Regions from separate parts of the Homo sapiens genome. Here regions 2, 3, 4, 5, 6 and 7 are each linked to region 1. Evidence: promoter capture Hi-C in 16 types of primary human blood cells and fetal thymus (Javierre and others, 2016). All regions are on one chromosome and are shown on one strand. Each heading gives the region's core, a stretch centred on a gene start or on the middle of the fragment in contact. The rest is flanking DNA. Distances are from core to core; before and after follow the strand shown.

Region 1 (3,890 bases), core at 160-2,659:
TTAGTGAAGAAATTGAAATCGAGGAAGAACAGGACAGGACAATAGAATACAGATTTTGAAGGCAGACAGATCTGGTTTTTAACACAGATTCAAACGTTTACTTATAACAAATGTTTAATAGAGCAAGTTGCTTGACTGTTCAAAGCCTCCATTTCTAACTCTGTAAAATGGTGATAATAATCTAACATACCTCCTGGAATTGTTGAGAGGAATAAATGACAAACTATGTAAAGCACTCGGCACACATAAGACTCAGTTAATGGCAACTATCGTTATTATTTTATCTATCTGAGACAAAAAAATTATCTATTTCATTTAAGAATTCTCAATAGCAAAACAAAATCCTGTCCCAGTGTAGAGCGAGGATTTTACGTGCTAAGGTCAGCTATGCTTCCCACTTCCACAGTTAAGCCTTCCAGCAAGACAACTACTAGCCAAAGGACACCAAGAGTCGCAATCTCCCAGGAAGTGGTCAAGAACCTCGTGAATGAGATCCAGGGATCATCACCCTGGCCCCTTCTTCTTCAAGGCGCAGAAGGCTGCAACGACCTCCAAATGACTAGGTGCGGCAGTGCCCTGCAGCCTCGGTCCCTACTATGAAAAGCTGCAACACATGAGGCTTTTGTTATTTTAAAGTGGGTGTGGGGTTGACAGAGAGAGGGATAAAGACTAAGGCAGAAAATTTTTTAAAAAGCCACCTCTACCCACAGCAGTCCCATAACTCGAGGCTAATCACTTCAGTGGAGCCAGGCACAGCGTGGGGTAGAAGCTCAGCGGTTCCCTTTTAGCTGATCTTCAATTTCTGGCGTCTCGAACCCAAGAAATGAAAAAGGGAAGCCATGGGGGAGCAGGAGGAGAAATCAAGGCGCGAAAGGACCCTCAAAGCTGTACTGTCACTCCACGCCCAGGCTGTCATTCTCTCCAGCACAAGCCCCTCGGTGGAGCATGTGTTTAGGGTCTGCAGAGCACAGGAGACAAAGCAGAAGCCCAGCAGCCGCCTCAACCCTGGCATGATCAGGTTCCGCATCTCCGGTTCTCCTCCGGTTTTGGGCCCTCACCTGCCACGAATGCGGTCGTCACGCGAGCAGTTGTGAGATGGTCAAGCCCATTCAGGTCTAGGTTACCCCCTTTCATCCCGGAGGCAGGGGTGAGGTGTTTGTCAAGAGACTTCAGTTGTAGGCGTGGACGTAGGCTACTTCCTTCAGTAACAGCTATAGGGCCACATAAGGGAACCTCAGGCTACTACACCTCAGGAATCTCCGTCACGCCTCTTCCCCGCCCTCCTCGGGTCTCACGCCGAAACCTCACCGGGCGGAACGATTTCCGGCAAGAGCCAAATGATCAGTCCTAACCTTTCTGACCGTGGTTCCAAGGTTCCCCAAAGGACTGCCCTCTAAAGGACCCGGGTAGTTCCGCTTCCGGCAGCGCGAGATAAATCACGAGAGGAAGCTTAAATCTGTCGTTTGAATTTAGGACCACCTCGGTGAGTGGTCGTTCTGGTGTGCTGTGTCATACCTACTGTTTTTTAAAGTGAGGCGTAACCCGACAGTAATTTCAAAACCATTCGCCTCGACCGGCCTAAGGAAGGGTTTAATTGAGTCTGTGGGGAGATTTTGCGCAAGCGCCTTTGAGATAGGAGGGCCTTGGGCGTTGCGATGTCCCGCGCTAGCTGAGCAGAAAGGGCGAGTGCTGTTTCGGGCCTGGGGAGGTGCCTACTGGGTGTAATTGAGTTTTACCAAACGGTCATTTTCCTGCTGATTCTGAGTGTGGTTGGACCTTGCCCTTAAGATTCCGTTAACGAGTCGCCCAAAGCTTAGGAAATGCTCCCTCACAGCGTTTGAGACTAAGCACTTTTGGCCGGCGTTGAAGAATTCTCCCCATTACTTTGATCAGTCATTTAATCAGAAATTTTGCCCCAAATTTAAATACGTGGCGGGGAGAAACGTGAGGTCAAGAGGGAATCCTGTCACGTAGTTTTAAAAGAAAAATGTCCACTTTATCTCAGTGTAGGTTTTTCTTAAATGGGCATTTCTGAACCAAAGTAGATACTTTTTAAAGTGGAAATGCATTTATCCCATGTGGCTTCATGTGAATGCATATGGCGATGAAGGCATTTTTTTGTTCAATGAATTTGTACTCTGAAGTGAACCAGATTACAGAGAAGTGTATTTAAATTTACAGGTCCTTGACGTTGCATAAAATTGTGCGTGTCCATTTTTTGGAGCTTAAAATAGAATAATTCAAATGTCAGAATTCCGATCCAAGTTAACATGTTGATTGAAAATTGCAGATTTTAAGATGGAACCAGCGGGTATTATAACCTTTTAGGGGCTTAAATTGGTGGCTTTGTTTTTAACCCTTGGTGAAACAGTTAAGTCCTAATCTTGACATAATACCTAACTGCCTTACTTTATTGAACACAAAATTATTAAAGGAATTAAGCAATGAGTTGATTTTATTTGCTTTTATGGAGGGGACAAAGTGTATAAAGCTTAACCAAATGTGACCCTGACATTCCTCTTGCAAAACTACAAGTTGTAATCAATCACTTTCATTTTTTCTTATTCCTACATGTTTAAGTACATTAAGTAATGATTTTAAGAGAAATTCTTGAAAATATGAGCATATCCAAAGAAGTCCCAGGACAGTCTTTCTTTATGTAGTAGAAACCACTTAATCCCCCTTGTAAATGATACCTTTACTTAGCAATCAGAGTATAAGAAGATATTTATATTTGTCTCGAATATTACAGTTTCAAGCCATTTTCTCATATGTATGGGCTTTGAAAAAAAAAAAACAACTTTCATTTACGTTACTTTTGTATATGAATACCAATTATTAGCAGTAAAACTTTTAACTACTTCAAAGGCTATGCTTTTCGTGAACTGAGTTTTCTTTCTTACGCATTTTCTATTTCTCCTTGTCATCTGTCTCTCTACCTCCAGAACCAGCAGTTTGTGAACTGCATTAGACTGTTATATCGTTATAAAAGGATACAATTCGTGAGTCTTCTGATTATTTTCTTCTTAGCACTGAAGCTTTATAAACATTGCTATAAAACATTAACACCATTAATGAAAGGAAAGAGATTTTAAAATATTTTTTCATGTAGGTGAAGATTTTGGGAAAAGAAAGGGTTTTATGTTACTTTAAACAGCCTGATATGGATGATAATACTTAGATATGATAATAATTATACATTACCATATACAAAGGACTTTTAATCATCCTCGTAATTGCAAAAAAGGGATAGATATTATGTCCTTTTCCAAACATAGATACTAAGGCTTAAGTCTATACCTTCTTAGACACAGTTTACTTATAGTGCCATGTATGTGAAAGTGAACTGTAATGTTTTCAAAAGTGAAATAATTTACCTCTGGAATATTTGCTATAATTTTTAATTCTCCTTTCAGGAAATGCAGGTAATTCTTTATTCATTCACAAATAGTTGAGTGTCCACTGTGTTCTGAACATTATGTTAAACAATGTAAACATAAAAAATTAATAAACTCTTTCCATTCCTCATTTATAATCTAAATTATTGATTACAAAAATCACTTTATAATTTGTGTAACAGAGGCCTGAACCAAGTATTATAAAAGCTAAGGATAACAAGTAATTGACTTACTGGTATAGCAGGGGGGAAAAGCGTGAAATTTGAAGTAAGAGACACCAAGTTAAAAGTGTCAGCGCATGTACTCACTTTATTACCTTGAGTAAATTGGACAATCTCTGAACCTCCATTTTCCTACCTGTAAAATGGATATAAAACTAATACCTACTTCATGAAGTACTGTGAGGATTATCATAGTAAAATACTGCATAACTATTTGCAGCTGTAGTCGTGAGTCACTTAGCAATGGAATAAATTCTGAGAAATGCTTTGT
Region 2 (3,515 bases), core at 786-3,285, 7.6 Mb after region 1:
AACTACAAAAAAATCATTCTGAAGCTTTCACCTATAAATATATACCAAGATAATTTCAGATAAGGTAGTAGTTTCTAAAGCAAGAACATATGAAATATGGTGCTTTAAATTATATAATTATTGTAACTAGGCAAAAAAGTTACTTATCTGCCTATTTAGGGAATCTGGTTCTAGCTGTAGATAAATTGATTTTATGGTATCTTAATTTTTCTATTATTTTGAATCCTAACATTTTTTAAGTCAAAAAGATTAAAAAATATGTATCTAACTTCTCAAACTTCTTTGGTCTCATACTTCTGTGTTAGCTTCTTCTTTGGATATAAAGGACTGTCAGTGTACCATGTCAGTGATTCATCTTTTTGGTACATTTTACTCCCTTGAGCATCTGAAGCCTATAAATACTTAATATTTACCCCAGCTTTGTTTTACCTTTCTATGAGATTAGAGGAGCTGACAGAAAATACAAATATTTCTTTTTTTCAACATTGAATTATGATTGAATTAGACTTGTTTATAGGTAAGCCAGAATAAGTTGTGTAATCTTAAAATATGCTAATTTATTTAAAATTAATATATCTTAAGACTAAATGAAGAAATACTTTCTCTACTAATTAAAATATCTTTTTATGGCTGAAATTAGTATACAACCCTTTTGCATTATCCATTGCTTCCATTCAAGTTTAAACATTGTTTTTCTTTAGAAAAAGTACAGGTAATAAACCTACAGTAATCCTTATTGTGAAGAAAGTTAATATCTTGATTTATGTTTCACAGAAACTAGCATTAAAACAATGCTTTCTTAAACTTTCATATCACAGTCACTGAAATTATTTGTGTTAGTGTTTTATCTGTGACTTGGGCTTATTCTACTGGATCTAGCTTTGTATAGAGTGGGAGAGTTGGATTGAGATTGGTATGTGTTTTGAGTCCTGATCAACAAGATCATTTGTATTTTAGCCAAAATATATAGAGAATGAATGTAAATAAAATATAACTCAATTTCAACACTTATTAATTGATCATCTATAATTTAAGATACTAGGTCCTGGGGATGCGGCAGTGAAAAAAAAAATTCTTGCCTGCATGGAACTTAGCTTCTTGTGGGGTTGGGACCCAGAAAATAAACAGGATAAATAAGTAGAATATATAGTATATTAAATGTGACAAATGCTTTCAAGAAAAATAAAGCAATGGAAGGGGTTCCGGAAATAATGGGTTGTTGAGAGTAGGGGGATGGCAAGATTAAAATGTTAAATAGCATGTCAAAGGAAGGTTTCATTGAGGAAGTGACATTTGAGTACAGATCTGAAGAGGTTAAGGAATAAACTGTGTATATTCTAGAGGGAAGACTGTTCCAGAGAGAAGGAGTCTTTTCCTTTTCCAGGGTCCCTTTTCAGATGGCTAAGTTTGTTGGAACATTTACGATTGGGTAGGTATTACTGTAGATTTACTCAGGCTTTCTGCCTTGACAGAATGTCCAGCAAGGAAGTGAAGACTGCTCTAAAAAGTGCTAGAGATGCAATCAGAAACAAAGAATACAAAGAAGCTTTGAAACACTGTAAGGTAACCAGTATTTTTTTCTTCCACAATGAAAGTATGTTACCCATTTATAAACATTGTTGATTTGTAATATGTGAATTATTTCCTGTCCAAACAGCAAAAGTGGTAAGGCCATTTAGTAGAACCATTAGAATGGTTGGACTTTTAACCTCTAGTTAGCAGGATAAACTACCTCTGCCAAACTTAACTTTCTCTGTATTGGTAACTTAACAAAACCAAGTTCTTAAAACCTGAATATCCCATAAATATCTTTTGATGGTTGTATCGTGGAATGCTACTGTATCTTAAAGTTTTCATTGTTTAATGGCATGTTAGTGTTCTATTTCTATTTGGTTTGTGGATGAGAGGACCAAGATTATAAAGCTTATTTTTATGCTGATGGGTATGATTCCATTCAGAGGGAGAAATTGGACTCGGGGGAGAGACAGAGGGTAGTGGTAGGAGTGAAGTCATCAGTAGGTGAGAGACACACTGGGATCCAGAGCTTGAGGGAGCCCTTTAATCCTTCTTCCATCTTAGCAGGAGAGAAGATAGGTGCCCATCCATACAGTGTTGGGCTTATAGATTTGGTGTTGGGAAAAGCTTTCTTCTCTAATGGCTTCTATTTTCTTGGCAAAGTATAAGATGAGACTGGGAGAAGACTTGGTTATTGGTTAGGAGGTTTGAGATAGCAGAAGGTATGAAATAGTTTCTTTCTTTGTTTTTTTTTTTGTTTTTTTTTTTTCTCATGGTGGGAAAAGAAACTTGCTAGTAAGGATTGGAAAGATTAGCAGGCCCTAGTGATTGCCCATTTGAAGTTTCAAGCTATTAAAGTGAAATTAGTGAACTCCGCTGTAGTTTTTCTCTTTGTATTCAGTTTCTCAGGTTTGGAGATGGGCATGATGGGGTTCAAGTATGGATGGAGAGAAAGAAGAAAGGAAAGACATGCAAAGGAAAGACATGACAAGGGAGTGATGACAGTGGTGAGCCCTGGAGTCTAAGCTGGGTAAAGAGGAATGAGAAATGAGAGGTGGGCTGATAGGCAATGGAAAAAGCGTTTAGGATAGAAAAAATTAGAGAAACCAAAGGTTAAAGATTTGTTACCATGGGACCACTACAGTAATTGAACTGGGACGGTTAGAGAGGAGCAGAATAGTACTGTGCTGGAAATTCAGATTTTGGATGGGTGAGTAGTGTGGTGGTCACATAACTGAGAGGCCAGAGTGTTCAACGGGATATCAACATGAATACAGGCACTGAGGTGGAAAAGAAGGATACAGAATTTTCACTGAAGGAAAGGGGAATTAGGAAGGTGGTAGACTGTAGCAACAAGAAGGCTATTTTTAGTAGTATAGTTGGATGGCCTGAGCTTCAAAGGTAGTGGGGTTGCTGAAGGAGGAAGGAGCAGTAGAGGACTGTAGGTGACAGACAGTGTGAGCAAGAAGCAGTTTCTCACCTTCTAGGCCTGTGGCATGTGAGCTGTAAAAGAAGTCATCTGCAATCTGTAGGATGTATAGGGGAATTAGCCATGTTTTCATTGAGGCAGAACTTGGTGTGGTTAAAAGAAAGGTTAAAAATATGGAAGGAACTTGGCTGACCCAGATTGGGAGTTCCAGAGGGCACAATGAAGAATTTAGGAGAGTGGTAGGGAGGGAATTGGGCAAGACTGGGCAGTATACATGGCAATATGAGGATGAGTCTAAGGAGTAAACAGGTAAAGGATACCCTTGTGAGGTTTAGGTTTCTGGTGGTGACTGATGGAGCCCAGCAGGGATGCAAGGACGTGATAGTATTAATCTTGATATAGAAGAAGGTGGGCAGTGTGTTCCAAGTGGGGACAGGTTGTGGATGGAATACAAGAAGGGAAGAAGGACTGTTTCCTTCAGCACTAGGTTTATCTAATTGATGCACGTTTCAGTTATATACAGCACCACCATAGCTGTCTTCTTCCTGTAGACTTTCTGCAAAATTCAGAT
Region 3 (3,341 bases), core at 842-3,341, 7.3 Mb after region 1:
GTGGAAAACCACAGGGCGATGAACATTTCAGAAGGGAACCGTGATGGTTTTGGAGTCTGAGCTCCTCCCTCCCCCAGTTCCCCAGCACAGCTAGCGCTAGCTAGCTCCCAAGCAGGCCAATTCAGAGACCTGTACCCAGAGAGATGTAAATGCTGCTTTAGTTGAGGGAGAAATGAATGGTTCTTTAACCAAAATGTTCTTGGAGGGGTATCTATTGCCTGCTAATTAATAACTCATTTCTTGGGCAATGAGTATACATTATTTGTGATGGTTACTCAGCATAGCAACAGAAGGGGGAAAAAGGTCTGAAAAAATACCACTGATTTCTCTGAAATGAAATAGTCAATGCTATAAATCTTCTAATCAGAATTCTACGATATCATCACAGCAGGTGCACCCTATGTCTGTCTGAGTTCACTTCCTGGCCTTACCACTGGTACTAAAAGCACTCAAACCCAATTAATGGTTTCCTATTCTGGGACATGTTTAGCAATTTAGGCTTAGATTAAGAATGAGAGAAGATGGGAAATGTTATTTCTCCAACTGCTTCTATTTTGGTGTGGGCATTAGAGTCCCCCATATTCAGAAAGTCTCCTTATTTGCATTTGGCCTTTTCCTTCAGTGTTCTATGCTGTCAGTATTTTACTGGCAGCTGCATCTCAAGGCCATCTGCAACAGAGTGTGTTTAAATGGCAGGTGTAAGTGTTCTGGTAATGAGAGAAAGGAAGGATTTTGCCTTACAAGGAGATCCCTTCTTTCTTTCCTGGCAGAACAGGCCCCATGCTGACGTCCCTCCTCAAGAGCTGGATGGCATTGCAAATGATGACAGCACTTCTGGTGGATGAATTTGGGGGCACAAACAGCTTTTTTCCTCTTTTGGCTCAGTATTTAAAAGTGGACCAACTTGCTCTTAATCACAGGGCCAAGAAGGTTGACGGGCCATCTTGGTTTTCTTCTGGATGTGCTCTTTGGTTTTCAGAAGACTGTGACAAGTTCTGGCCCAGGATTCGCTCACTGACCCTCAATTGTCCTCTTTGGCATGCGTTTCTTACTGTTCTCCATGTGTCGGCATGTCTCTACCTCTAAGCCAGTGTTTTTCAACTATGTTTATCCAGACTCCTTCTCCACAATGATGAATCCACAGTTGGTTATCTGCTACTGCCCATTAGCTAAAATCATTTTGCTGCTTGACTTTATGGAGTTTGTATTATGAAATCAGTGGGTATTTTGAATGTGTTCTTTCTAACTACATGCATCTCTCCACTCAACTCCACCCCATCCCATCCCACCTTGAAAATCACTGCTCTGAACCAGTGTTCTCCACCTTGTCCTCCACAGATCTCATAGGAAATGTTCAACAATTCTGTGAAAGGTCACAGGACCCAATTGGAGAAATCATATGAAAAGCATAGTTGGTCTTGGTGTCATATGGATCAGAGGCACAAGTGCAGAGGCTGTGGTCATGCGGAACACTCTGTTATTTAAGATGGCTATCCAGATAATCCTGAACACTGTGTATTTATTTTATTTAGACTACCAGCAAAGATTAAAGCATGAAATGTAAAACATCTGATAAAACTTACAGCCCCCTACACCAAGAGTGTATCTGTGAAAGAGCTCCTACACTTTGAAAACTTAAGAATCCCTTATCATGAAGTTTGCCTGTTCTAGAATTGTAAGATTGTTAATTTCCTTCAATCTCTAGTGACAACACTTAATTTCTTTTCTAATAAAAAAAACCTATAGATGATTCAGTGATTTTTGTCCAATTCATTTGCATGTTCTCAAGACATTAAGGAATGTTATGCGAAATACACTAACTTAAAACTGTGTTTATATTTGGCCCTGCCATTATAAATAAAGACACGTGCTGCTGTCACTCACTGAGTACAAATGGCTGATATAATTTTGAAATTTCATATTGAAATAAATGCCAGCCCTGGCTTACTGAATAATGCTTAGGGTTTAATAACAGTCTTTTTCATTTCATATTCCTTTTTGCCATTTCCCACTTAAGGCCCTTGTACTTCTCGCTTCTTTCTTTTGTGGGCCCTAACCACTCCCTTCAACCAGGATTGCTATGATAATTGTTCAGTTTACACCAGGATTGCTATGGATAATTGTTCAGTTTACACACTGCACAATATGAAAGCCCTCCCACCGGAGGTTATAGTATCTGATCCACTCTGGACCACTTGCCTGCACTTTCACACTTCTTTGTCCATGTTCATTGTGTTTCTTTCTCCTGAGATGCCTTTTCTTCTTTGTTTTACTTTGAAACTCCTCCTCGTTCAAGGCCTGATTTACAGATCATTTCCCCTATATTTTCTCTCTCCTCTCATGGCCTTTTGACTGAAAAATCATCGTTCCCTCTTCTGGAATTCAAAAACACTGTGCATGTAGATACTCTACAGCTCTTATCAGGCTATGTTGTAGTTAATCATCTGTATTGGTCTCCTGCCAAATTCAGAAGTACCCAAAGGTGACTGGGCGCGGCAGGTCACACCTGTAATCCCAGCACTTTGGGAGGCTCAGGCGGGTGGATCATGAGGTCAGGAGTTCGAGACCAGCCTGGCCAATATGGTGAAACCCCATTTCTACCAAAAGTAGAAAAATTAGCCGGGTGTGGTGGCACGTGCCTGTAGTCCCAGCTACTCGGGAAGCTGAGGCAGAAGAATTACTAGAACCTGGGAGGTGGAGGTTGCAGTGAGCTGAGATCGTGCCACTGCACTCCAGCCTGGGTAGCAGAGCGAGACTCTGTCTCCAAAAAAAAGTACCCAAAGGCAAGAACCTAGACTTAACTATGGAAACCCAGTTCCCAGCATAGAAGAGCTGTTTTATCAAAGCAATATATGCATACGGTTTAAAAAGCCAAATAGTACTAAAAGTCTTTCCTGCTCTATCCGCCTCAAACCCAGGTCCTGGTAAAGTACCTTACAGGGCCGTGTGCCCCTCCCCAAGGGTATTCCCTCTCTCCATCCCTCCATAGAGGTAACCACTACTTCATTTTTCTTGTAATCATTCTGATACTTTATAGTTTTACTCCTTATAATATCTCTAAGCAATACATTTTACTTTTGAAAAACAATAACACCGACCTAGCTGTGTAAGAAAAAGGTGATATCACAATTAGACGAACAATCCCAAGAACAGGTAAACTGAACATTGACTCTGAGTTATAGACTGGCTTCGGCATCCCTTGGAAGTTTTCCAGAGCCTCTTCTGGGGAAGCAGAAGTGGTGCTGAGTGAGTCCTTGGAAACACGGCACCCCACGATCAGGGAGGCTATTGTGTGAGCCAAGAACGGGGTGTCCCCCAGAAATATGGTAACGGCAGAGGGC
Region 4 (3,503 bases), core at 1-2,500, 6.6 Mb before region 1:
GCGCTTCCCCACTCGGTTCCCCCTGTCTGCCACAAACAAACCAGATGTAATAGCTGAAGAATGACGACACTAAAATCAACCTAGAGATTCACATCTAAAAGGGCCGCAACACGAAATAAACTTCTCTCTCTTCAGAGGCAGCGGGGAAGAAAAAGAAAAAAAAGCCTAGGTGGGTTCGGTTTGATCCATTTCCGCGACTCCGTGCGCTCAGGGGCTCTGGGCTGGTGCGGGCGGCTTAACCCTGTGAGAGCCGAGAACGACCCCACCGGGATACGCGGGCCCCGGGCTGGCGGGGGGTGCCTCACGCCGCGCCCGTTCCCCCGCCAGCAGGTGCCCGAAGCCACCCCAACAGGCCGGGTGCGAATGCCGGAACATGGCCACTTTCCTGAGCGGGATGATGCCGCCGCCGCCGCCGCACGCCGCCCAGCACTTTGTTAACTTGGCGCGCCCGGGCGAGGTGGCTCCCAGGAGGTGATCATTGCCGTCCGAGAGCTACAGAGCCCCTGGCCTCGCCCAGCACGGGTGTGGGGCCGCGGCGGGAGGAAGAGGTTGGGTAGCAGCCGCTAACCAGGGGCCCGCACGCCTGGCCCCTCGGAGCCCCGCGCCCCCTTCCCAGGTGCTTACCTGAGGGAAGGAGCCCTCGCGGCGCGGGTTCCTGGGGTAGTCTAAGTGACCCCGGTCCAGCATCAGGTAGAGCGAGAAAATCACCACACAGAAGATCGCACTGCCGAACACGGTGAACTGGCGGCTTAACTTCATTTTCCTCGATAGACTCGGGGCCAGGACACTCTCCTCAGCCAAAGGAGACAGCGCACTGTGGACTCTAGGAAGCAGCCGCCGGAGGCTCCCTTCTCCCGGGCTGCGCGACCTCCGCGCTCTCGGATGCGGGTGCGAGTCCCCGCCTTGCTCCGCACCTAGTCTCCGGCGCCACCACACGCCCTTGGCCTTCGCCCTGGCCTGCCGCCCTCCCCGGGGTCGGGCGCCCCTCTCGAGGCGAGACTCGCCGGCAACTGGGAAGGGGGGCCCCCACAAACTTGATCGCAAGCTCAGCGCCGACCTCCGGCAGGGCGCGCGGGGCAGGCGGAGGAGAGGTCGCTGCCCGCACTTCCTGCCACCGCCGCCCCAACTGAGTCGGCAGGAAAAGTTTTCTCGACGAGGGCAGGCGTGTCCTCCTCACCCAGGGGAGGCGCGGGTTCGGCAGCTCCCGGGCCGGGGCCGCGCAGCTAGGTCAGAGAAGCGGAGGGGAAAGGAACAAGATCGCGAGGAGCCAAGCCCTACAACTTCTGGGCGGGACGGTCGGGCCCGCCCCCGCGGCACCGGCACCGCCCCCGCCTACCCCGACTGAGCCCCTTCGTGCTGCTGCCGCCGCCGCCGCCGACGCTGCGGCTGGGCCGATGTGCACCCCGGACTCCGGGGCTCACGGATTGATGAGTTTCCTCAGAGCTAGCGTCCGCTCGCCAGACTCTCCCGCCCCCCGCCGCCCCTACCTTCCCCCTCCCGGACCCAGGCTCCGCGGGGAGGCGCAGGGGGCGGGCGGCGGCAACGCGGAAAGAAGGAAAAGGAGAGCAGGGAGGAAAGGACCGTCCCCGGAGAGAAGCCCGCTCCAGCTGCAGCCGCTAGCCCCCTCCCTCTTTCCCGCCCCACAAACGCGGAGATGGCGGCGGAAGCGGCGAAAGGAAGCGCCGGTTCTCCAGCGCCACTTGGCGCTCCAGCACCGCCCGCCACGAGCAGGAGGAGACAGCGGCGGCGCAGCAGCCGCTGGGTCAATAGGCGCCCGCAGCGCCTGAGCCGAGCGGGCGGCTGGCCCCGCCCCCTCCCGACGCTCCGAGATGAGGGGGCGGGCCCCACGGCGCCCAATCACAGCGCGTCGCCCGGCGGACCCGCCCCGCGCCTGCCTCCCAGTGTCCCGGCGATAGGAAGACCTCACAGGGCTCTTGTGACCTGGCAGGCAGCTTTCTGGGAGTTGAGGCCTTCGGGGGCGTTCAGGCGCCAGCACCCCCACGTCCAACAGGGGTTGAGCTTACACCCCACTTCCCTTTGTTGCTCAGGTTTCCTATCCTAGGACACTCGGGCCTGGCGTGCCTGGAAGAGTACTTGGTGACGGGCTGGAGGAAATGCAAGAGAAGAGGGCTTGCACATTCTCTTCGGGCTCACTATTTCCTCCTTTGGTGACAGCCTGTTAAAACCTGGGGGAAAGGAGACTGACAAAGGGCCGTCCAGGCACATGTAGAAACATCTGACTACGAAATCCATGAGTGTAATCTGAGAAGTGATGCTTCTGCCAGTTATTGATTTATTGCCTCTCAGCTCCAAATTCGCCCTTTTTGACTGCACTGTAAAAACGGATCTGAGCCTTTTAAACAGTTTTTCGTTTGCCTTCTGGGACTGAAGCTTTATCAGCAGAGGGCGCTGAAGAGACATTACAGAAAAAAAGGATTTTGCTTCCTGATTTCTGTGTATTGATAAGCTTTTGCAGCATACCTGGCTTTCTCCACTGCCAAGGTCCTATAGTGCTCAGTAACTAGCAATTTCCTCTCACATGCCCAACTCTAGGAGCTTTGTAGAGGAGGTGAGACACTACCCCATGAATAACTTCCCTGGCACCCTAGAGGCATTTGCAGCAAGTTGCAGAGGGCACATCTTCCACAAGCTTTGCAGACGTAGCCCAATGGTGACTTCTCTGCCATTCAGTGAGCCAGGTCATGCCCTCTCCAAAAACGTCTAGATCTTAGCCCTGGGAGGAATTGGGGAGGTTCTTCATTGGGCACTCTGTCTCTCAACCCAAGAGTTAGTTATAAGGTTAGCTCCTTATAGCTGCTGTTGCTATATTCTTTAAAGTTCTCTTCTTGCTAGTGAATCCTTCATTACTCTAATCCTCTATTATAGTTAACAATTCTTTTTATTAAGCCTTCCCTGTCCCGGGAGTAGTCCCAAGAAATAGACCTGCAAAGATGGGATTAAAGGTCAGTTTGATTGAGGTTTTGAGCTTTAGCTCCTTGCCAAAGGGAAATGTAATTCATGACATGCTGGGCATCTCAATTAAGCAATTACCTGTGGTTGATCCTGATGAAGTGCCAACTGAAGCCTGTGCCTTGGGGCCCCAAGTGGCTGCTACACTTGACTGCTATGGTTATAAAGATGACTAGAAAGACTGGTGTGGGATGGATTCTTTTGCGTGCTTTTGAGTGGTTATAAAGAGAAATGACAAGCACAGGTTTTTTAACTCTCAGAGTTATGGTATGAGAACCAGAGATATTCTGCAGAATTCCAAAAGCTCTGGTTTATTGTAGCAACAAGAATTATGCTGAGAATCAAACAAAATTTTAATTTTCATGTTACTGAATTATAACTGCTATTAAATTCACACATATTCTGAGTTTTTCGTGTAAAATGGTGTTATTTTTTAATAATAGAATCTCAATACTTGAAATGGGTTGGACCCAGATGAAACCGACAATCTTAAACACGCCAACTCTTTCTCTTATCAGTGGAAGTAGGTTGCC
Region 5 (3,604 bases), core at 214-2,713, 7.5 Mb after region 1:
AACTCCATATAAAATTACAAATTAGCTAAATGGATACTCGGTCACTATTAGATTCCTTTCCAACAAAGGAAATAAATTCAAGTGGAATTTAAAAAAATATTTAGTGTAACTCAAATTTCCACAAGACACGGGAGATAAAAGAAACATGAAGTGAAACGTACTTACTTGTCACTCGTCTTGAACCATGACTAAGATGCTTTTACCAAGTGTGGAAACTTTGCCTACACATTATCAGAATGCTTATCTCAAGTATGACACCCTTGCTTTTACATGCAGGGAAGAGAAATGCCTTAGAGAGTAGTTTTGGTATCTCTCTGAATGGCAGAATAATAACAGATAAAACTAGCTGTCCTTTAGTAAATGCCTACTGCTTGGACCCTTTGAATATAATAGTTCATTAGTCTTCACAAAACCGCCAACGGGTAGGCATTAGTTTTATTCAGGTAGCACCCACGTTTTTATAAAAACATGAGGCTTGCAAGTAAACTATCCTGAAGACACAGAAACCTTTTAGCAAAGCAAATATGTATATTGGTGATATATATAGTATTGATATTTATATTTGTCACCAAAGATGGTCCTGAATTAAAAAAAAAAAGGAACGCTAATGTGCAACAGCTATGTTCACGAATGTTTACAATTGAACGCTTGCCCAATAATTTTATATAAAGTCACAGAGCTGCTCTGGAAATCAGCACCATCGTATGATGTTGAATTGTGATCACGAGTGAGCTAGACCTGGGTTTGCATCCCAGTTCTGCGTGATTTGGGGCAAGTTGCTTAACTTCGCTGTGCTGCAGTTTCTTTTACTTTAAGAAGGGCCCGCCACATAGGGGTGTGGGTAAAGCACATAAATGCTTTAACACATGTCAAATGTTTAGAGCAGGCCTAACCGCAGAAAACGCTCACAGCGCGTTAGCTGGCACCTCTAAGGTCCATCCAGCTCTGGCAGTTATCCTGCCTAACTTCAAGTTGTGTTTAACATTTCGGTAAAGACCGCCTGCAGTTCTGAGACTGCACGTGGCTGTCCAGGTGCTGCAAATTCTCGACACAGACTCCAGGAGGCGAGTATCTCCAGGACGGCCGGGGCTGCGGAAGCCCTGGAGCAGCTTCTATACTTTAGAGCTTTCATGGCACAAATGCCATGAAAGCTTGTTAAAAACGACCCGCGTACCCCCCTTAGGTGGCAGGTCTCAGGTGTGGCCCAAGTTTCAAGGTGAACAAGCTCGGTGAGTCTCCTGTGCCTGGGCGGAAGCCCGCCTTGGCGGGTTAACCGTTAACTAACGCTGAACCAAAACCCAAGAGGGCCTCAGGCCCCGCAGCGGCGCGGCCACAGCCGGAATGAGGAGTCCACGCCCGCAGCCCAGCCGGAAGCAGCTGGTCCCGCCAGCCCGCCCCCTGCGCGGCGAGAACAGAACTTACTGTCCCCGAGTCCTCGCTCCGCCTCCGCGTGACGCTACTGCACGAGCCAGAGCTCCAGACGTGCGCGGCGCCTCGACGGGGGCGGGGCGAGGCCGTCCACGTGACCCAAGAAGGCCCGCCCCCGGGACCGCCTCTATGGCATTGCCGGCAGATGACCCTGGTTGATAGAGATCTCTGGCCAACAGCGCCGCGCCAGCACCTTCAAACTGGCAGGCATACTCGTGTACTTGACAAATGTGGATAGCATCAGTTTACTTTTTAGTTGTTTGTTGATCTCATTACATTTATTCAAATTTTAGATGCGCCCAGCGACTTCATTCAGTTATTTACCCTATAAAAATATTTGCAGAAGGTCGTCGCGATGCTGGTAACCCATGTATAAGGATGTTAAGGCCGGGCGCGGTGGTTCACGCCTGTAATCCCAGTACTTTGGGAGGCCGAGGCGGGCGAATCACCTGAGGTCGGGAGTTTGAGACCAGCCTGACCAACATGGAGAAACCCCATCTCTACTAAAAATACAAAATTAGCCGGGCGTGGTGGCCCAGGCCTGTAATCGCAGGTACTCAGGAGGCTGAGGCAGGAGAATCGCTTTGAATCCAGGAGGCAGAGGTTGCGGTGAGCCGAGATCGCGCCGTTGCACTCCAGCCTGGACAACACGAGCGAAACTCCATCTCAAAAAAAAAAAAAATGTTTATTGCTGTGAAGTAGTGAAAATAGCTGAAGTGATAACACGGAGGAATGGTTCAATAAAACACAGCACAACAGTACAGACATGTGAATTACTTCGTAGCTGTGTACTGTATACTCAAAGGACAGGCCCATCATGTAATGAATATTAAAGGCAAAGCGTAGAATACTATATATGGTGTCCTCTCTTTAATGTAAACAATTATTTTTTGAAATACAAACATGCAGGTATGTACATAAACTTTTTCTCGAAAAATCAAAAGAAACAATAGTGGTTGCTTTGGGAGGAGATGGAGAGTTTTCACTTTCATATTATGAACTTTGCAATTTTGCTTTTTTCTCATTGTACTTCCCTGAATTGACAACAACAACAACAAAGAAAACCACCAAAACCCTCATATTTGTGTTCCGAGCTGGGAAACTAGATGAGCCTAAGTTTTTAATTTCCTTGACTACTTTCCAGTGCAGTGATTCTTAACCCTGGCTATGCCTTAGAGTCGCTTGGGAGTTTTGAAAAGTCGTAATGCCCAGTCTGTATGCCAGACCAACAAAATAAAACACAGATTATTTGGGGTGGGAAGGGAGTGGGCAGATTCAATGTATGTTTTTAACTTCCTGAGTGATTCCAGTGTGAACCCAAGGTTGAACACTACAACTTGTATTTAGTATGGTGACATAGTGATCTCAGGCTCTAGGGTGGCCCAATGAACTGGGGCAGCCGAAACCCAGGAACTTTGTCCATTTACCTCAGTGTGCTATATAAATGCCATTTTTTAAATGAGCCTCAACATGTAAGAAGTTGAATAGCTCAGAATAATTTGTTTCCAGTGCTAGTTTCTTCTGTTTTTTTTCTCTTCAATACAGTTTTATGGTGATCAATAATATTTTATTGGGTCATTTCCCTTTTGGCCATTTTTTTCACTGACCCAAACACAAATTAACTATCTAGTTTTGATGTATCAGTTATCAAAGATATAAAATATATTTTGATTTATTGTAATTTCCATTATCTGTTAGTCATCCCAAATGATTTTATTGGCACATGGAAGGTGTTAGTAGTCCCCAGCTTGTCATCGAAGGATTAAATAAGGTTTGCCATTTTAGAAATCCTTTTTTGCTTTGTCATATTCTGGGCATTAAAAAAGGACACATCTTAGATCCATCGACCTTAAATTTGATATTGAATAAACTGAAGACCTCAGTAGTTATACATGCATATACACACAAGTAGGATGAAAGAAGAGAAACTTTCTTTTATCTCTACCAAAAGTATTCATATGGTTAGTCATGTGATGTTTGGAAAGCTATAATGGAGGTCAGAATAAACTACCCTTCTCCACTTCCCAAGTGCACACACACACAAATGCACAAAACCATTCACACACAGGCATGCACATTAGGTAACAGCAAGAACCCATCCAGTCTATTTGGAAGTCATTATTGTTCAGAATAAAGTTCATAATTTCTACTGTTATTTTGCCTTTTTTTTTTCTTT
Region 6 (3,819 bases), core at 506-3,005, 6.6 Mb after region 1:
CTATTTCCTATACAATTCAGAGTGATATGCTGCTACCATATTGACCAAATATGAAGTGCTTCCTCTTTGGGTGACCTGATAGCAGCAGAATACCTCTCTGAGTCATTTGATATTGATTTTTGATCTTCACTTCCTGAGATTTTTTTTAAACCCCAAACTGCAAATTAGAGTAACTTGATATTTCTATGTCTTATGATGTGATACAGAGACAGTATCCCAAAGCTCATTTCATTTCTGAGGGAGCGGTGTGTGTGTGGGGGGGTCTTATGTATGAGTGAAGAGACAGTGTTTCAATGTTACATTTTCTGTTTTTTTTTTAATTTAAAAAAACAGATGTTGCAAAACAAGATTGAGGTTAGTCCAGGACCATTTTTAACTACTTGAACATCTCCAAATCTGCACATTAATTCTGACTATATTATCAATTCAGAAATTCAAGAGATGTTCCAAAGTTTAATAACATCTTCAAATGCTTTTAGGTAATTGGTCATTTACTTTGCTAGCCTAGTGTTTGTTGTTTTTAATCTGCATGCTTTTCAGTGATGTCCAAAGCAAGTTGATTTCCAAAAGGCTTTCCAAACCTTATCTTTTCTAACAGATAAATATGAGAAAAGCAAAATTCTTTTACTTTCAGATAGGTATGATATAAGGATCATATCCACATATTGCTACGTAGTTTCATACCTCTATCAATTACTATTCACTCACCTCCTTTCCTAGATGCTTCAAATTAACTGGTAATTGTATCCCTTTAAAGAGCCCATCCCTAGAACTTGACACTGCTCTTGATAACCTATGTGGAGGTTTGAAAGGAAGCTACTCGCGGGAAGGCTTGAAGGACACCAGGTGACCTGGTTTGTCTAACAAACAGTTTTTCTTTTGCTGGCTGTTTAACCAGTCTTTGCCTTGTGTGTAGATTGCATGCTCTGACTGGGGTTTTCAGAGGGGTGGGAGAGAAAACAGATAGAGCCTGCCTACTAGAGAGGTGGAGAAGAATGAGGCCAAGTGAAAGAGAGGGCTGAAAGCATGAAAGCTACTGCAGGGAGATATTTTAGGGGAGGAGTTGACAGGATCAATATGGATATAAAGGATGCTTTTGCTACATGATATACAATATAATTTTGCTCCCCCCCTCAAAAACATTAGCAAATATAAAAATTAGGTATCTACAGTTTTGATGGGGAAAATGTGCTGAGACTGGTCTTGGGAAAAAAGAACCATGGCCCAAGTGACCGAGTGACAATCAGATTACTCCTGGAAGCAGCACTTCTAAAACAAAGGAAGAGAAAGTTATCCACCCTTTGTTTTTCTGCCGCTTCAAAGATGGCAGAGTCTATAGTGACATGGAGAACAGTGAAATGAGATGAGGTTAACCTCTTTGGAGAGGAAATGATGAGTCAGTTGCCATGGGAGTTGAAAAGATAAGTTTTTTTTTTCTCTTCCTGTGTTGCTCACAGAAGTATAGTAACTGAAGTGTTTTAATAAAAAGTTCTCATCTCAAGGCCATCAATGGCTCATCATACACGTATGTGACTCCAGCAATACAAATTAGATGGTTTTTCAAATCATAGCACAACTGAAGGGGAACAGAGAGTACTTGGAAAGCTTAAATGGGGGCAGGAGGGGTAGTCTATTGCTTCAACTTTAGTAAAATGTGTTCAGACATTTTAATAAAATCTGCTGAAAACAGGCAGACTGGTTTTATATCTTTTGGTAAAGAATCCAGTTCAAATAGAGTTGTGAGTAAGAGTAGCTTTTGGGCGAAGTGAAGGATGGTAACTGAGTTGGGTGAAGAGGATATGGGACAGAGCTCAGCAAGGGTGGGCTTCAGTCTGGCATGAAGCCAACAAGGCAGCAGGCAGTCAGGGAAGTTCAAATATTCCAGCCACTGTATTGAAAGCTTCTTTTCTTTAGAAGCAGCCTCCATATTTTAGTCGTATTTGTATTTCTCCAAGACCATACATAATTAAGTGCTTAATTTGAGCACTGGGTAGATTCAAATTATAAGAGAATTAGAGTTCTGGGTGCTCATAGGAGAAGATAGCTTGGCTTAATAACTTTTATCAGTGGAAATGAGATCAGAAGTTCCCATGCCTGCCCCATATCTGATTTAAATCACACGTTATATTCTTACTTGCTTCCTTCTTTCTATAAAAAAAATTTATACTGTTACAAATATCCCTCCATCAAAATGTCAGACCATTACCTACTCAATTATTTGGGAGGGGAGCATTTCTCATGGTATTATCCCAAATTATGATTAGAATTTCCAAGCTGTCATAATGCACAGATTTAATAGGACAGCTCAAAAAAGATTTACTTGAGAAATGTGATGAATATAGAGAAAGAAAAATGTATCATCACTCTGGAAATCCATGGATTTTCTTCAACTGCCATACCTGTACCTTACTCTTTTCCACTTCTATAATTACCTCTCCTTCCTTACTTCTATGCGCCTATTAATCCTCTACAGACCAACTTGCATCACCATCACTCCAGTAAAATTTTCTTGTCAAAGACATCATTGATCTCCATGTCGCAAATACACCAGGCATGTCTACAACTTCATCTATTCAACATCTCACTGCCTTTGGATACTGTTGTTCCACTGTCCTCCTCCTTTTATTTTCTTTTGGAGACGGAGTTTTGCTCTTGTCGCCCAGGCTGGAGTACAGTGGCACGATCTCGGCTCACCGTAACCTCCACCTCTCAGGTTCAAGTGATTCTCCTGCTTCAGCCTCCCTAGTAACTGGGATTACAGGCGTCTCTCACCACGCCTGGCTAATTTTTTGTATTTTTAGCAGAGATGGGATTTCATCATGTTGGGCAGGCTAGTCTTGAACTCCTGACCTCAGGTGATTCACCCGCCTAGGCCTCCCAAAGTGCTGGGATTACAGGCCTGAGCCACTGCACCCAGCCCTCCTCCTCCTTTTTCTTTAAAAAAAAAAAAAAAAAAAAAAAAACCTTAAATATTTAACATATGGTTATTTAACATATAGTTAAAAGATTTAAATGTACTAAAGGGCTCCTCATAACAAAACAACAGTATCTTCAATTGTCGGTTTTAACAAATAAAAGTAGGTACCACTGAGGACATACTTAGGTTTAAAAAGTGTTTATTTGGCCAGGTGCAGTGGCTCACGCCTGTAATCCCAGCACTTTGGGAGGCCGAGGCGGGAGGATCACGAGGTCAGGAGATCGAGACCAACCTGGCTAACACGGTGAAACCCCGTCTCTACCAAAAATACAAAAAATTAGCCGGGCTTGGTGGCGGGCGCCTGTAGTCCCAGCTACTCGAGAGGCTGAGGCAGGAGAATGGCGTTAACCCAGGAGGCGGAGCTTGCAGTGAGCCGAGATCGCGCCACTGCACTCCAGCCTGGGCGACAGAGCGAGACTCCGTCTCAAAAAAAAAAAAAAAAAAAAAAAAAAATTGTTTATTTACATAAAACTCAAATTTAGCTGAGTCTCCTATATTTTACCTGGCAACTCATGCCACCATGTCCTATGCCTGTTCTTCCTCCCCAGAGGCAATATTTTCTAATTTTAAAAAGCTGTTTGTTCACTTAGCTCCATATTTCTAAATAACATTTTTAAAATACTGATTTTTTACATTTTATCTTTGCTTCCACAATGATAAATGAAAAGTTAGCTCCCTTATATTCTTCCCATTTCCCTCTTCCTTATGCTTTCAGTATTCGCTGTGCCAATTATTGTTTCCTTACAATATTTAGCAAAATGCCAACACTGTCATATTCTTATTACATCAACCTTAGGTAACATTCTTTGACTTTTGCTAAGGTGGGGAAATTAGGCTTCTGC
Region 7 (3,541 bases), core at 1-2,500, 8.5 Mb after region 1:
CATGGCTGAGACATAAGAGAACAAGCTTGTAATTTCATGCTTGGGCATTAGATGCATTTTTGGAAAGCAGTGATCAGTAAGTATGTGTGCTTTCAGAAAGGAATGCTTGCGTTCTGCTCCAGGCTTTGTCGATAATGAAGGATTCAGGAGAATTTTGGATGGAGGTCTGAGGTAGCCAGAATAGTTGTAAAGAGAAATTGCTTCCGACAAAGGGATAATGTGAGGAAAGGTGCTCATTTAAGATTTGAAAGATGTGATGTAGTGAACCTTGGCGACTTCTCTTAAGTAATGCAATTTCTTAGGTAACTAGTTTTCACTTGCCACCTTATATTTAGATAATTACCTCCCCACCAACCCCCGTAAAAGGCAGCTGACTGTTATTTTTTCAAAACAGTCAGTTCCCGAAAGAGTTGTAGGTACTATTGCATTTTTTTTATGGGTATGCTCCTCATACCCATAAAAACATTTTCTTTATCGGAGCATACCGATAAAGAAAAATGCAATATGTTCAATTCAAGGCCCCTGTTAACACCAGGCCAGTGTCTTCTTAACCTTTTGAGAGTAATGCAACAAACCATATTTAGGACAGCACATTGATTTTCTGGCCTTGTTGGTTAATAATTCAACAAACTTATAATCGCCCCATTAATCCCAATCTTGACATTTTGTTGAATCTTGTATTTTTTCTTTATTTCTCCAGTTGAAAGTATTATAAATTACTTCAGGGATATTATGTATTATATCTGTACAGCAACTAGTTTTTAGAGGCAGTGATTTCTCTCTTTGAATTGCTCTTGAATGTAGCCAATCATTAATACTTACCCCAAGTAGATACTGTCTGCCAGGCACTTTACATTTATTATTTTATTTAATGTTTAATAAAAAAAGAAAATCACAAAAATTGTATTATTTCTATTTTGCAAAACATTTTATACTGAGACCCAAAGAGGTTGTGATTTTCCATAAATTATACAATTAAATGGCACAATTAAAATTTGAATCCAGTCTACCTGACTCTAAATTTTGGCTCTTTTTACTGTGCTCTATACCTTTATAAGTAAACATAACAGTATCATTATTTTCACTCCAGGTAAAAATGGATAGATAGTATGTCACATTTAGAAATCAAGTGGATAGCAAAACTTGAGGATAAAAGGGACTTAAGGGATGTGTTCATCACCATAAGGTAATTTTGACATCTAAATAATGCAGTTTCTTTAGTGCCTTTATCCTTGGCCAGTTTTATTATCCTAATTCAAACAAATGCCTATACTGTACATTAGCATAACACTTGGGGCAAATGCAGAAGATCTGGAGACCATCAGCAAGCATATTGGTGACTGAGTCCAGAGTATCAGCTAACTATCTCTTTAGACAGCTTTTCACACACACATTTGTATACATGTATATTTGTGTGTGCATGTGTGTGTGTGTGTGTAGGGAGAAAGAATGAGTAAATGAGCACAAATTCATAAAATTCAACTTTGTAATGATTTATAAGGAATTATTAGCAAAACTGTGCTGTTCCACTCACGTAACCCTCAAACAGATGGGGATTATCACATAGTTTCAGGAATATGCTTTATTAAACCTGCCCATCCCAATACCCAATTCTATATAGAGAAACAGAAATAGCCTAATTTTCAGAGAATTTACAAAAATTTAGTTGAAATGACCAATACTAGAAATGACATAGAAGTTAATTCTAAAGAATATCCTGTTTTACAACTGTATAGGTATAGCTAGCCTGAAATACTAATGTGTATTTGATTACATTGCATTGACTTGTAGGCAGATCCCGTAGGCAGATCTCAGGGATATTTTGCTATCAAATTTCAGTGCTTATGAAGTTTGGGATTATGTCTGTTTTGTTCGTCATCTCAAACCCAGCATCTAGCACTGTGCCTGGCGTGTAATAGAAGCTCAATAAATAAGTCAGGAACCATGACTCATGACTGTAACCCCAATACTTTGGGAGGCTAAGGCAAGAGGATTTGAATCCAGATCCTCTAAATTTTGGCTCTTTTTACTATGTTCTATACTTCCTTTAATAAATAAACATAGGTCACAGTGAACTATGATCATACTACTGCACTCTAGCCTGCACAACAGAGTAAGACCCTGTCTCTAAAAAATAAAAAATAAGCATTTATTGAATGAATGATTCCTTTTTAAAATGTTATTTATCCACCGAGAAGTATTTGTACATTTTTTAAAGGATTTACCACATAAATAAATATTTATTTTTACTCACCTTGCCCCTGAAATACAGTGTCCACTCCACACTCATTCATAAAAGGCAATGTGCTGTCCTGCAAAGAAGACTGGACTGTGAGACAGGAGATGAGAGAATATCTAATATTTTTCTGTGTTTATTCTCTGCTATTCAGTGTTAAATTACTCCTTACAGCACAGTGGGTAAGTATTATTATCCTCCTTTTACAGATGCTAAAACTGAGGCAAAGATAAGCTTTGTAAATTGTCGTAGGTTACGCATAGTCATTAAACACAGCTATGATTTGAATGAAGGGCTCTGATCCCAAAAGCGATAATCTTAACCACTTTGCTAGCCTCCAGTTGAATTTTTAATCCTGGTTCAGCTGCTAAATGTGTGCAAAAGCTCTGGGTATCATGTTTCTCATCTATAACATATAGGAGTTTGATGGATTATATTATCTGTAAGGTCCCTCCTACCTCAAAAATCCTCTGACTTTAGTTGACTCCTAAGTATTATCTGAATATAGCAGTTCTGGAGTGCCAGAAAACCCTCATCAATTTTGATGTGTTTTATGTAAGCTTTTATATGTGTTCACGTCTTCCACATTGGTGGACACACAATCATGTTTTTGCAATAGGAAGAATAGAGTTAAAAAAATCACAGCCATGCTTTTTTTTTTTTTTTTACCAGCTATGACACTAATAAGTCACTGAACCTTTGTGAGCTTATGTTTTCATATGTAAAATGGATCCATAGGATTGCTGTGAGCGTTAAGTGGGTTGACTTATAAAGCCTCAAACGTGTTGTCTGATACACAATTGCTGATAAATAAATATTGATTCTTTTTCTTGCTCAGTCTTGCAAGGATAAAAGATTAGTGGATATGAAAAATGCTTTATAAATTAGACAAAGGTGAAGAATATTTTCACTTACAGTCTACTAGGAGAGAGAAAGTTATATAAACAAATAATTATATGTAGGGCAATTTACATACATCATTGAACACAAAACATGGGAATGCAAAGAAAAGAGATTTTTTTTTTTCCAGGAGGGCAGATGAGGAAAGACCTCATAAAAAAGGTAATATTGAGTTTGTGCCATATAGGATGGAAAGGATTTTGGCAGGGGAACAAGAGGGACAAGTGTTCTACTGGAAGATGCAAAGGTGTCAGAAAACAGAAATAGTACCTAGGTCACTTTGGCTATGTAAGATGGATGAAGGCTGGTAATAAAGCTGAGGTAAAAAGCTGAGTTTAGGACAAGCTGTAGATAACTGTGGGCAAGTTAGAGATGTTAGGCTTTTAACGATAAGCAATAATCTGT

The links. The method cuts DNA at HindIII sites, captures the fragments that hold promoters and counts their contacts. A CHiCAGO score of 5 or more calls a contact.
Region 2: a contact is called between a fragment that was not itself captured here and the fragment with the promoter of GIN1 in region 1, in 1 of 17 cell types (naive CD8 T cells). The highest score is 5.0, in naive CD8 T cells.
Region 3: a contact is called between a fragment that was not itself captured here and the fragment with the promoter of GIN1 in region 1, in 1 of 17 cell types (non-activated CD4 T cells). The highest score is 6.1, in non-activated CD4 T cells.
Region 4: the fragment with the promoter of MAN2A1 here is called in contact with the fragment with the promoter of GIN1 in region 1 in 2 of 17 cell types (total B cells and total CD8 T cells); the score reaches 11.0 in total B cells.
Region 5: a contact is called between the fragment with the promoter of RFESD here and the fragment with the promoter of GIN1 in region 1, in 1 of 17 cell types (total B cells). The highest score is 7.0, in total B cells.
Region 6: a contact is called between a fragment that was not itself captured here and the fragment with the promoter of GIN1 in region 1, in 1 of 17 cell types (activated CD4 T cells). The highest score is 6.8, in activated CD4 T cells.
Region 7: a fragment that was not itself captured here is called in contact with the fragment with the promoter of GIN1 in region 1 in 2 of 17 cell types (naive CD8 T cells and total CD4 T cells); the score reaches 8.1 in naive CD8 T cells.

What each region holds. Positions count from the first base shown.
Region 1 is chr5:103,117,657-103,121,546 of GRCh38, reverse strand. GIN1 (gypsy retrotransposon integrase 1) reads left to right here and starts at 1,409. Exons shown (of 8, transcript NM_017676.2): 1 at 1,409-1,483. PPIP5K2 (diphosphoinositol pentakisphosphate kinase 2) reads right to left here and starts at 1,246. Exons shown (of 31, transcript NM_001276277.3): 1 at 1,059-1,246. RefSeq lists enhancers at 846-905, 956-1,145, 1,176-1,435, 1,271-1,771, 1,772-2,273. The HindIII fragment of the contact is 9,897 bases long and covers 1-1,451 here.
Region 2 is chr5:95,545,109-95,548,623 of GRCh38, reverse strand. SKIC3 (SKI3 subunit of superkiller complex) reads left to right here. Exons shown (of 43, transcript NM_014639.4): 3 at 1-64; 4 at 1,473-1,563. The coding sequence starts at 1,474. Among named protein-coding and RNA genes, the nearest start is that of SKIC3, 8.1 kb to the left of the region's middle. The HindIII fragment of the contact is 219 bases long and covers 1,926-2,144 here.
Region 3 is chr5:95,812,387-95,815,727 of GRCh38, reverse strand. It overlaps GLRX (glutaredoxin), which reads left to right. Exons shown (of 3, transcript NM_001118890.2): 3 at 1,339-1,879. Among named protein-coding and RNA genes, the nearest start is that of GLRX, 8.7 kb to the left of the region's middle. The HindIII fragment of the contact is 5,335 bases long and covers 1-3,341 here.
Region 4 is chr5:109,687,674-109,691,176 of GRCh38, reverse strand. It overlaps MAN2A1 (mannosidase alpha class 2A member 1), which reads right to left and starts at 1,250. Exons shown (of 22, transcript NM_002372.4): 1 at 625-1,250. The coding sequence starts at 759. It overlaps MAN2A1-DT (MAN2A1 divergent transcript), which reads left to right and starts at 78. Exons shown (of 1, transcript NR_186543.1): 1 at 78-3,376. RefSeq lists silencers at 387-486, 897-1,106, 1,137-1,656, 1,667-1,956 and enhancers at 2,067-2,166, 1,926-2,594. The HindIII fragment of the contact is 3,132 bases long and covers 1-2,393 here.
Region 5 is chr5:95,644,636-95,648,239 of GRCh38, reverse strand. It overlaps RFESD (Rieske Fe-S domain containing), which reads right to left and starts at 1,463. Exons shown (of 6, transcript NM_001131066.2): 1 at 1,423-1,463. The HindIII fragment of the contact is 4,150 bases long and covers 1,154-3,604 here.
Region 6 is chr5:96,535,176-96,538,994 of GRCh38, reverse strand. All of the region lies in intron 4 of LOC101929710 (a long non-coding RNA gene), which reads right to left. It also overlaps a transcript of CAST not described here. Among named protein-coding and RNA genes, the nearest start is that of PCSK1, 100 kb to the right of the region's middle. The HindIII fragment of the contact is 295 bases long and covers 1,608-1,902 here.
Region 7 is chr5:94,614,427-94,617,967 of GRCh38, reverse strand. All of the region lies in intron 1 of KIAA0825, which reads left to right. Among named protein-coding and RNA genes, the nearest start is that of KIAA0825, 2.4 kb to the left of the region's middle. RefSeq lists an enhancer at 1-350. The HindIII fragment of the contact is 2,445 bases long and covers 28-2,472 here.